Linked DNA regions of Homo sapiens: region 1 is linked to region 2. Evidence: promoter capture Hi-C in human tissues and cell types (Jung and others, 2019). All regions are on one chromosome and are shown on one strand. Each heading gives the region's core, a stretch centred on a gene start or on the middle of the fragment in contact. The rest is flanking DNA. Distances are from core to core; before and after follow the strand shown. Region 1 overlaps KIF14 (kinesin family member 14). Region 2 holds the start of CACNA1S (calcium voltage-gated channel subunit alpha1 S).

Region 1 (4,740 bases), core at 1,708-4,207, 530 kb before region 2:
AAAGGTACATTAGGCATAGGAAGATCATTTCAAATGATGTAATATGATTTATGTCTATCAAATTTCTTCTTTCCTTAAGCTTAAATGTAAAAATTTTAAAAATATACAATTATGACAATAGATTCCACCCTTAAATTTCTCTATTATACCTATAACTGTATTAAAACAATCCAATAAAACTCCATTTAAATGTAAAAATAAATATATATAATTGTTAATACTGGTTGGTTTAGGTAATTGATAGATTGCCTTTTATTTTCCAAATTTTCTATATGGAGAATATGTCACTTTTATATATATACTTTTTTCACCAAAAGCAGGTACTTGAACTTTTATACTTTTTTATTTTAAAAAATTTATAGAGATTTTAATAATATTCCAAACCTCATAAAGTTCTTTCATTGCTGCAAGTTTAGATTCAAACTTTTCCAGACTCCAGAATGTTGAGATTCCTAGTTTCAGGTTACGAACCCGAATAGAAGTGTCAGAACTACTTTTATCTGATATATCATGTCTGAAAGAAAAATAAACAAAAAAAAGCTTATCCTGAAACATACACATCCATTTATACTAAGAGTTTTCTGGGGTAGAATAATTTCCCTAAAAATTCCATCCACTGATTAAGTCTTTCCACAGTTAAGTATTTTTATTATAGTAATAATCATATAAGTATAAAACATATAAAAATAACAAAAATTTTTTAAAATCAAAAATTTCTAATAAGGTATGTTCCTTTTGAACAATGAAATACTGATACATTTTCAACTCAAAAGAAAATTAGCAAATTCCTAAAACAACTAAAATTATTTTATTTATAAATATACTAGTATGTTAATTGTTGAAATCTCTCTTAATCCAGAATGACCTCTGAAAGGATAAAGTCTCACTGGGGATTCTGGGGATTCTGATACCAGCTCTTTCCTATAGCTGTAGAATGGACTTTAGAGAAACTAAATGATAGCCGGGCGCAGTGGCTCACACCTGTAATCCCAGCACTTTGAGAGGCCAAGTCAGGCGGATCACTAGGTCAAGAGTTTGAAACCAGCCTGGCCAACGTGGTGAAACCCCATCTCTAACTAAAAATACAGAAATTAGCTGGGTGTGGTGGCGCACACCACCCAGTAATCCCAGTTACTCAGGAGGCTGAGGCAGGAGAATTGCTTGAACCCGGGAGGTGGAGGTTGCAGTGAGCCCAGATTGCGCCACTGCACTCCAGCCTGGGCAACAGAGCAAGACTCTGTCTCAGAAAAAAAAAAAAAAAAAAGAGAAACTAAATGATATAAAGGCCAACTTGTTTAAAACATTTAAAATCAGGATAATTAATTACTCACCTGCCAAAAACATAGTATGTTTTCAATTTGCTGCTGATAGCATTGGCTTCCTGAATCATCATTGAGAGTTTCATAGAGCTCCAAGTTGTCTGCACTAATACAAAGCACACAGAAAAGATTCAAAATACATACATGGACACTAACATATACCATTAGGCAAAACAATTCCTAAAAAAAAAATCACTGATTTTAAATGAATGGTTTTAACTCTATATTGCAGAAGGATAAGTGATATTTGAGTAATTTGGTGAAATAAAACATTTTTCCTATAAAATGAGGTTTTTGCCTGTGGGAAGATGTAAGAAAATGGAAGTTGATATAAAAAAGATAAGCCAAAGACAATGCTTTACTTTCTAATATCTAGAAAAAAATTTTTTTTCTAATGTCTTTTTTCTTTCTTCCTCATTTCTAAATTATTTCAAGTATTGAGTATTCTATAGTCTTACTTATGTAGAAACATGTCCTTTTGTATTTTGCCTAAAAATTTTAAAAAATGTATATATATATGTCAGGACATTAAAATAAAAAAGGAAAATAATTTAGTACACAATTTCACTTTCCTTTTTTTTTTTTTTTTTTTTTTTGAGTCAGGGTCTCACTAGGTTGCCTAGGCTATATAGTACAGTGGCTCAAGCATGGCTCACTGCAGCCTTGACCTCCCCAGGCTCAAGTGATCCTCCCATCTCAGCCTTCCAAGTAGCTGGAACTACAGGTGCATGCCACCACACCCAGCTAACTTTCTTATATTTTGTAGAGAGGAGGTTTTGCCATGTTGCTCAGGCTGGTCTTGAACTCCTGGGCTTAAGCAATCTACCTGCCTCAGCCTTCCAAAATGCTGGGATTACAGACATGAGCCACCACACCCAGCTCCTAATTTGAATTTAAGATTATGACTGGGCACAGTAGCTCATGTCTATAATCCCCATATTTTGGGAGGCTGAGGCAGGAGGATCACTTGAAGGCCAGAATTTCAAGGCTTGCCTGGGCAATATAGTGGCACCCTATCTCTAGAAAATAAAATAAATTAGCCAAGCAAGGAAGCATGCACCTGTAGTCCTAGCTACTGGAGAGCCTGAGACAAGAGGATCACTTGAGCCCAGGAGTTTGAGGTTGCAGTCAGCTATGATGGCACTCTGCACCCCAGCCTGTGTGACAGAGCAAGACTTTGTCTCAAAAAAAAAAAATTTATCATAAATATTTTCTATATTGTTCAGACAAACTTATAACCAGTAATCTACTAAAAATAGCTTTTTGGAAGGATAAACTCATTCACATGAATTAAAAAATCAAGTAATCATTGTAAGGCACTGTCTAGGCCCTCAGAAGAATAAAAGTATTGCCTCCTGGCAATAGATACAAAGAGTATTGGCTGGGTGAAGTGGCACACAGCTGTAATCCCAGCACTTTGGGAGACCAAGGCCGGTGGATCACCTGAGGTCAGGAGTTTGAAACTAGCCTGGCCATCATGGTGAAACACTGTTTCTACTAAAAATACAAAAATTAGTCAGGCGTGGTAGCGGATGCCTGTAGTCCCAGCTACTCGGGAGGCTGAGGCAGGAGAATTGCTTGAAAGCGGGAGACAGAAGTTGCAGTGAGCTGAGATTGCGCTACTGCACTCCAATGCACTCCAACCTGGGTGACAGAGCAAGACTCTGTCTCAGAAAAAAAAAAAAAGAGTATTAATATTTTAAAAGTTATTTTAAAGAAGTTACAGAAAGTACACAACATACCTACCAAGTATTCTTGCTAAAAAACTGAACCTGAATTTGATAGGCCTGAAGATCTAACTACCACTTTCTAGGGAATACTGGAACAGAGGAGCCTGTTAAGTAACACCAGGCAGACACAATCAGCAAAATCCAGAATCCAAAAAAACTCTACAGGACAAATCATCTGATTTCTTCAGCAAATTACTAGATGAAAGAGAAGAGTGAATTTACAGATTAAAAGAGACTTAAAAGGCACATCTACCAAACGCAATGTGTAGATGATGTTGGTATCCTGATTCAAACAAATCAAGTTTTTTTTTTAAAAAAAGGATGAAACAATCCAGGAAATACGAATATGGAGTAAATATGTGATGTGTAAGAAATTATTATTAATATAGTTATGGCAATGCTTAAAAGAGTGACAGAGAAAGAGAGAGAGGGAGAGCAAAAAGAGAGTCCTTATCTAATTTAGAGATACACAGTGAAGTGTGTACACCTTAAATGATATGGTGTCTGGGATTTGCTTCAAACTAGTCCAGGGAAGCAGTGAGCTTGAGGATAGCGGCAACAAGATTGAACATGTGTTGATAATCATTGAAGTTGGATAAATATATAAAGGCTTACTGCAGCAATCTCTACTTTTATAGTTTGTTTAAAATTTTCCATAATAAAAAAGTTTATATTAAAAATATGCTGTGTTTTACATAGAAATGTACCAAAAAAAGTGCAATCAAAAGTCTCCCAGGACTTGGCTAGGCATGGTGGCTCACACCTGTAATCCCAGCACTTTGGGAAGCCGAGGCAGGCAGATCACCTGAGGTCAGAAGTTTGATACCAGCCTGGCCAACATGGTGAAACCCTGTCTCTACTAAAAATACAAAACTTAGCTGGGCATGGTGGTGCATGCCTGTAATCCCAGCTACTCAGGAAGCTGAAGCAGGAGAATCGCTTGAGCCTGGGAGGCAGAGGCTGCAGTGAGCCAAGATCACACCACTGCATTCCAGCCTGGGCAACAACAACAAAAAGACTTTAAAAAAAAAAAAAATAGTCGGGCCGGGCCCCGGTGGCTCACAACTGTAAACCCAGCACTTTGGGAGGCTGAGGTGGGTGGATCACGAGGTCAGGAGGTAGAGACCATCCTGGCCAACATGGTGAAACCCCATCGCTACTAAAAATACAAAAACTGTACTCCCAGCTACTTGGGAAGCTGAGGCAGGAGAATCACTTGAACCCGGGAGGCGGAGGTTGCAGTAAGCTGAGATCGTGCCACCATACTCCAGCCTGCCAACACATAAGACTCTGTTTCAAAAAAAAAAAAAAAAGGTCTCACAGGACTTAATGGCTTCACTGGTGAAGTCTACCGAACAATTAAAGAAGAATTAATGCTAACCCTTTTCAAACTCTTCCAAAAAGCTGAAGAGGAGGGAACATTTCCAATTCCTTTTGCAAGGCCAGCATTACCCTGATACTAAAGCCAGACAAAGACACTACAAGAAAAGAAAACTACAGGCCAATATCCCTGATGAACATAGATCCAAAAATCTTCAACAAAATACTAGCAAACCAAATTCAACAGCACATTAAAAGGATCATACACCATGATCAAGTGGGGTTTATCACTGGGATGCAAGGATGGTTTAACATATACAAATCAATAAATGTGATATACCACATTAACAGAATAAGGATAAAAATCATAT
Region 2 (5,217 bases), core at 719-3,218:
TGACCTCTGGCTCCCTCTCCTCAGGAACAAGTCACTTTCATGTAGACTCCTTGGAATGGCAAAGGTCTGGTCCCTGGCTGAGGGCTCCTCAGCTTTAAGGCCTAGGGGGTCTTCACACCGCTCCACTCTCAGCGCCTGTCCATGCCCTTGCCTGCTCCCAAGGAGCCATGACTTTGGCAGATTCTGGCCAATCCACAGAGGCTTACCCAGATAAATGGCATGGGAGGGTAAGGGTTGATGCAGGGTAAGGTTGAGAACTCACTGAGTAGGACTGGGAAGGAGAGATGGAGAGATGAATGCTGAATTTCCAGAGCCATGTGCACATGCTGGTGTGCACGTGCTCACACCCATCACACCTCACCCCTCCCAGACACACCCACCCCGCCACAGCCATTTCCAGAGGGTACCCCAGGCCCATGGCTTTCTCGACTTTCTGGCCCATTAGGCAGCAAGTCTGGAAAGAGCTAGAGAAAGCAAGGGAGGAAGCGAGGGAGTTGTTTGGGGGTGGATGGGGAGGCATATTACGTAGTTGGGCTTGACAGAAAAATCCCATTCTCTTCCCAGTAACCTCCAGTGTTTGAGAAAAGAGGAGGGCCACAGGGGCAGGGCGCAGAGGAGCAGAGGATGGAGGAGAGGGAGAACCCACAGAGTAAACCTGATTGCAGAAGAGAGGCAAGGAGGGAGGGCCTAGGAGGGTTTGATGTGGGCGATATACCGCCTGGCCGAGAGCGGGTCAGGGGAACAGGGCTGACCCTGACCCCAAACTATCTCTACTTGCCCCACGTTTCTCTTGTCCTTCCAGTTATCCCTCATTCTCCTTCCTTCTAGGGAACAGCTGGTAGGAGCCCAGCCTTCCAGAACTCTTCAGAAATATTTCAAATATGCCCCACCCTCGCTCTCAGAACCCACTTGACACAGCCCTCCCCTTCTCTCTGTCACTCCTTCCTCCCTTCCCCAAATAACCCAGATATTTTCATCATTCTCCCCACCAGAGCAAATGCAAACATAGCATGAGTTTCAAAGTCCCTGTCCCCAGGGTGGCACGTCTGAGCTAGAACAACCAGGCTTGTTTGGCCTGTGTCTTGGAGCCACTGAGACCAGGTGTCTTTCAGATCCATTTCTCCCCTTGGCTCTGTCCTCAGCTGGGACCTGCCCCCAGAGGAAGCCTTCCTTCAGCTCACCTCTGTCCACTGTCACCCCCCACCCAACCCAAACAAGGGAGAGTTTTCTCAAAGAGGCCATCGCATCTTTTTTTGGTCCCTATCCTATTCTAAAATGAGGCTGGTGCTTCAAAAACCTAGTGGCACCCCATGATAATGTGGATTTGGGCACACATGGGAACAGTCCCCATGAAACAGGCCCCACCCATAGGTGGTCAGTAGGCATCTCTGGTTGTCATCCAGGACTTGGGTGGCCCACTCAGGCCCAGGAAGCCCCACCAAGTCCTCCTTCTCTTCCTCTTCCTCCTCCTCCTCTTCCTCCTCCTCCCCCACCCTCCTCCTCTTCCTCCTCCTCCCCCACCCTCCTCGTCTTCCTCCTCTTCCTCCTCCTCCTCTCCTGCTTAGCCGAGGGCTCCTTCCCCCAGCTCCTCACTCAATTCTGTGAGTTCACCCCATGTCTAAGTGCCAGGCCTCCCTGGCCCTCCTGTAGGAAGTTTGTGCTCTGTGATCACCCCGAATCCCTCCCTCATGACGCACACCCCCCCCCACGGCCCGGGCCCTGAAGGATACTTCCATTCTACAATGCTGATGCAGGCCTTCCTCAGGGGGTTCTCCAGGGTCAGGCAGAACAAGGCCCGGGGTGGCCTTGGCAGAATCTCAGGAACTGGCTTCTTGGGCTGTTTCTTCCTCAGGCCTTCATCCTGGGGTGAGGATGGCTCCATGGCTTCCCTGGGAATCTGGCTTTCTCCTGCTCCCCCACCCCAGTGCTTTCCCTTCCCTGTGTCCCCAATGCCCCCGCCTTGGGGACTAGGCTGGCTGAGGCTGTCGGCTGAGCCTGCCCTGCTGAGCCAGCCAGGGGGCGGGGGCAGGAGTGGGGGCAGGAGGATTACTCTCCTCGCTCCCAGCAAGTAAAATTAGCCTCCACTCGGCTCCCCGCTGCCGGGCCTGAGCTTCTGAGGCCAGGCAGCTGTCATTCCACCCAGCCCAGCCAGTGACTTCCCAATCTGTCCCCTGAGGAGGGTGGGGTGGGTCGGGGGAAGAACTTACACACAGGCCTGGGATGGGGCAGGGGCAGTGGGAGAGGGAGACAGGATGGAAGGTTTCAAGCCTGGGGCAACAGAGGTCAGGAATAGGTAGCCTTGGATATGGAACCTCAAACTGCAGAGTGGCCCCCTCATGCCAAAATTAGGCTTACCCCTCCTCAGCCCCATGACATTGTCTGGAGAAGGCACTGGGCAGCCTAAGTCAGGACAGCTCCACAGCAGCCCCTACCCATCTCAGTATCTGCACCATCAGCCAAAACTCCCCAAGCATACCCTCAACCCACCCCCACAAGCAATCCCATGTCAGAGAAACAGTAAACCCCTCTCCAGTGGGCTAGAAGGCTCCCAGAACAACCCTGAGTGTGCACACCTCTGGCATAGCACCTGCCTCACTGTGGAGCATCTGCTGTGTATCTTTCTTCCCCATCTCCTCCCATCCCTACAGGTGTAAAGGTTGTGTGCATTATCTCTGGGACTCTGGCCCCTTCTCTGCACAGTCCCCCTATGTACTATGCTCCCTGTAAATGTTCACTGAGGCCAGGCATGGTGGCTCACGCCTGTAATCCCAACACTTTGGGAGGCTGAGGTGGGAGAATGGCTTGAGCTCAGGACTTCAAGACCAGTCGGGGCAACGTAGTGAAACTCTGTCTCTACAAAAAATACAAAAATTAGCAGGGTATGGTGGTGTGTGTTTGTAGTCCCAGCTACTAGGGGGGCCAAGGTGGGAGGATCAGTTGAGCCTGGGAGGTTGAGGCTGCAATGAGCCAAGATCTGGCCACTGCACTCCAGCCTGGATGACAGAGTGAGACAGAGTGAGACCTTGTCTCAAAAAGAAAAGTTCATTGAGGATAGCCACGGTAATCCCAGCACTTTGGGAAACCAAGGTAGGTAGATAACTTGAGGTGAGGAATTCGAGACCAGCATGGCCAACATGGTGAAACCCGCATTCTACTAAAAATACCAAAGATTAGCGGGCGTGGTGGTGTGCACCTATAATCCCAGCTACTCTGGAGGCTGAGGCAGGAGAATTGCTCAAACCCAGGAGAAGGAGGTTGCAGTGAGCAGGGATTGAATCACTGCACTCCAGTCTGGGCAACAGAGCAAAACCTGTCTCAAAAAAAAAAAAAAAAAAAAAAAAATTCATTGAACGCCTGAGCTAACAACACTGAATCTTAAATGTGCTGAGCTAACAGCGAACCCCACATATCCTCCCAGCAAGTACTCTGGGCTGGGAGTGAGAATAAGAAAGGGGCACCAGGAAGGGTGAGGGTAGACAATGATCTAGGAATGAGAAAATTCAACAATCCTTTTATTTAGCTCTTTGGTGCCGACGCAGTGCCTATGTACCTATATGCACGCCCCCCTCCCCCAAGGCTTACAGTCTGAGGGAAAAAAACCACAGTCCCCACCCAACCTGGGACAAAACTAGACGACCTCATGGGGGGGATGCGGGGAGGGAGTAACCCCCCCTCCCAACCCAGGAAGCCAGAGAACGCCACCGGGGCACACAGGTCGCCTCTGCTGAGTCTGTAGGTTCGGTCTGGGCTGAGCGCCAGCAGCAATCTGGCCTCCCATCCCTTCCTCTGGGTTCCTTTCTCGAGGAGTAAGCGTGCTCCCAAAGAAGTCGCTAGTATCTGAGGCCATCTGGTGGAGAGCAGTGGCATGGTAACCGAGGGCTCAAAGTCGGGCTCGCATCCCGGGGACTCGCAGAGACTGGACTGCGCCTGCGGCAAGGAAGGACGGAGCAGAGCCACCTGAGGCCGAGCGGGAGCCAGACCCAGGGATGACCGTCCTGGGGAGCCCCTCTGCACCCCGGAGGGGACGCAGGACGCCCGGAGCAGTCCCAGGCCCTGCCCCTCGCTTCACCCACGGAGCTCCTAGGTCTCTATCGTGCCCATCGTACCCGCTGCCCTGCACTTCCGCCCCAAGCTGGTGGAGGAGGGAGGGTGTCGCAGACACGGGAGCGCCGCGGACCTCCTACAGTCACCGTCCTGCGGCGCATCGCGGGTGACCCAACAGCCTCCCGCTGCTCCCGAAAGTGGGACGGGGCCGGCGGATCATCCTCCAAGCCGGGGGCGGCCACAGGCCCGATCAATGCCAGGATTCCTCCGACTCCAAGAAAGGCGACGGGGAGAAGCAGGAGGACTCGGATGACTCCGGCACCAGGGAGGAGGGCGCCCGGGCCTCGCCGTCGCCAGGGCGGTCGGGACGGGGGGTGGCGGGCGGCGCGGGGCAGGGCCCGGTGCCCGGGAGGCCGCGGGAAGCGGGGGGCGTCGAGCCGTCGGGGGCCGAGCTCAGCAGCTCTTGCAGGTACTTTATGTAGCGGATGGCGGCGCGCAGCGTCTCCACCTTGCTGAGTCGCTTCTCAGCCAGGGCGCCGGGGAGGTGGCCGCGGAGGCGAGCGTAGCCCTCGTTGACGCACTTGACTCGCTGCCTCTCGCGCTCGTTGCGCTTCTGGATGAAGGCTGGCTCGAAGGGGTATTCGTAGACCCCGAAGGCGCCGGGGAAGGGCACGTAGGGGAACACCCCCGCATAGGCGTCGTAGTAGGGCGGCTCTGCTGGGCCCGGGTACAGCAGGAAGGGCACGTTGCCCAGGGGCTCGGCGGGGGGCAGGGGCGCCTGCCGGGGAGGGGGCATGACGCCCAGCTGCATGCAGCTGGGGGGCCCCAGAGGCCTCCGGTCCACCAGAGCCCGGCAGAAGTTATTGTTCATGGTGCCGCGTGGAGCTGGACCCAGAGCGAGGCCTCCACCGAATGGCCCCGGCTTGGGGTCTGCACCGTCTCCACCAGTGGGGCAAGTCACATCGCTAGCAGCAGCTCTTGGGTACCAGGACTTGCTAGGGCCTCTTTTCGCCCTTTAGGGTGGCTTCCAATGACTCCCTAACAAGAGCCATCGCCCTAGACAAGTGTGGCCCCTCTCAGGAGGTCGGTGCACGCCTTCTCAGAGCCAGCCCATGGCGCCGCGGAACTCTGAGGGCCCGCACCCCGTTCCGCAGCACCCATGGGCATGGCCAC

The links. Contacts are between HindIII fragments. The study calls those that stand out against the background at their distance.
Region 1: a fragment that was not itself captured here is called in contact with the fragment with the promoter of CACNA1S in region 2 in 1 of the 25 tissues and cell types used here (thymus).

What each region holds. Positions count from the first base shown.
Region 1 is chr1:200,579,870-200,584,609 of GRCh38, forward strand. KIF14 (kinesin family member 14) reads right to left here. Exons shown (of 30, transcript NM_014875.3): 20 at 1,332-1,425; 21 at 385-514. Among named protein-coding and RNA genes, the nearest start is that of KIF14, 39 kb to the right of the region's middle. The HindIII fragment of the contact is 5,297 bases long and covers 310-4,740 here.
Region 2 is chr1:201,110,458-201,115,674 of GRCh38, forward strand. CACNA1S (calcium voltage-gated channel subunit alpha1 S) reads right to left here and starts at 1,969. Exons shown (of 44, transcript NM_000069.3): 1 at 1,731-1,969. The coding sequence starts at 1,882. It overlaps ASCL5 (achaete-scute family bHLH transcription factor 5), which reads right to left. Exons shown (of 2, transcript NM_001270601.2): 2 at 3,486-5,217. The coding sequence starts at 4,915. The coding sequence ends at 4,295. RefSeq lists a silencer at 4,096-4,145 and an enhancer at 4,796-5,217. The HindIII fragment of the contact is 14,734 bases long and covers 1-5,217 here.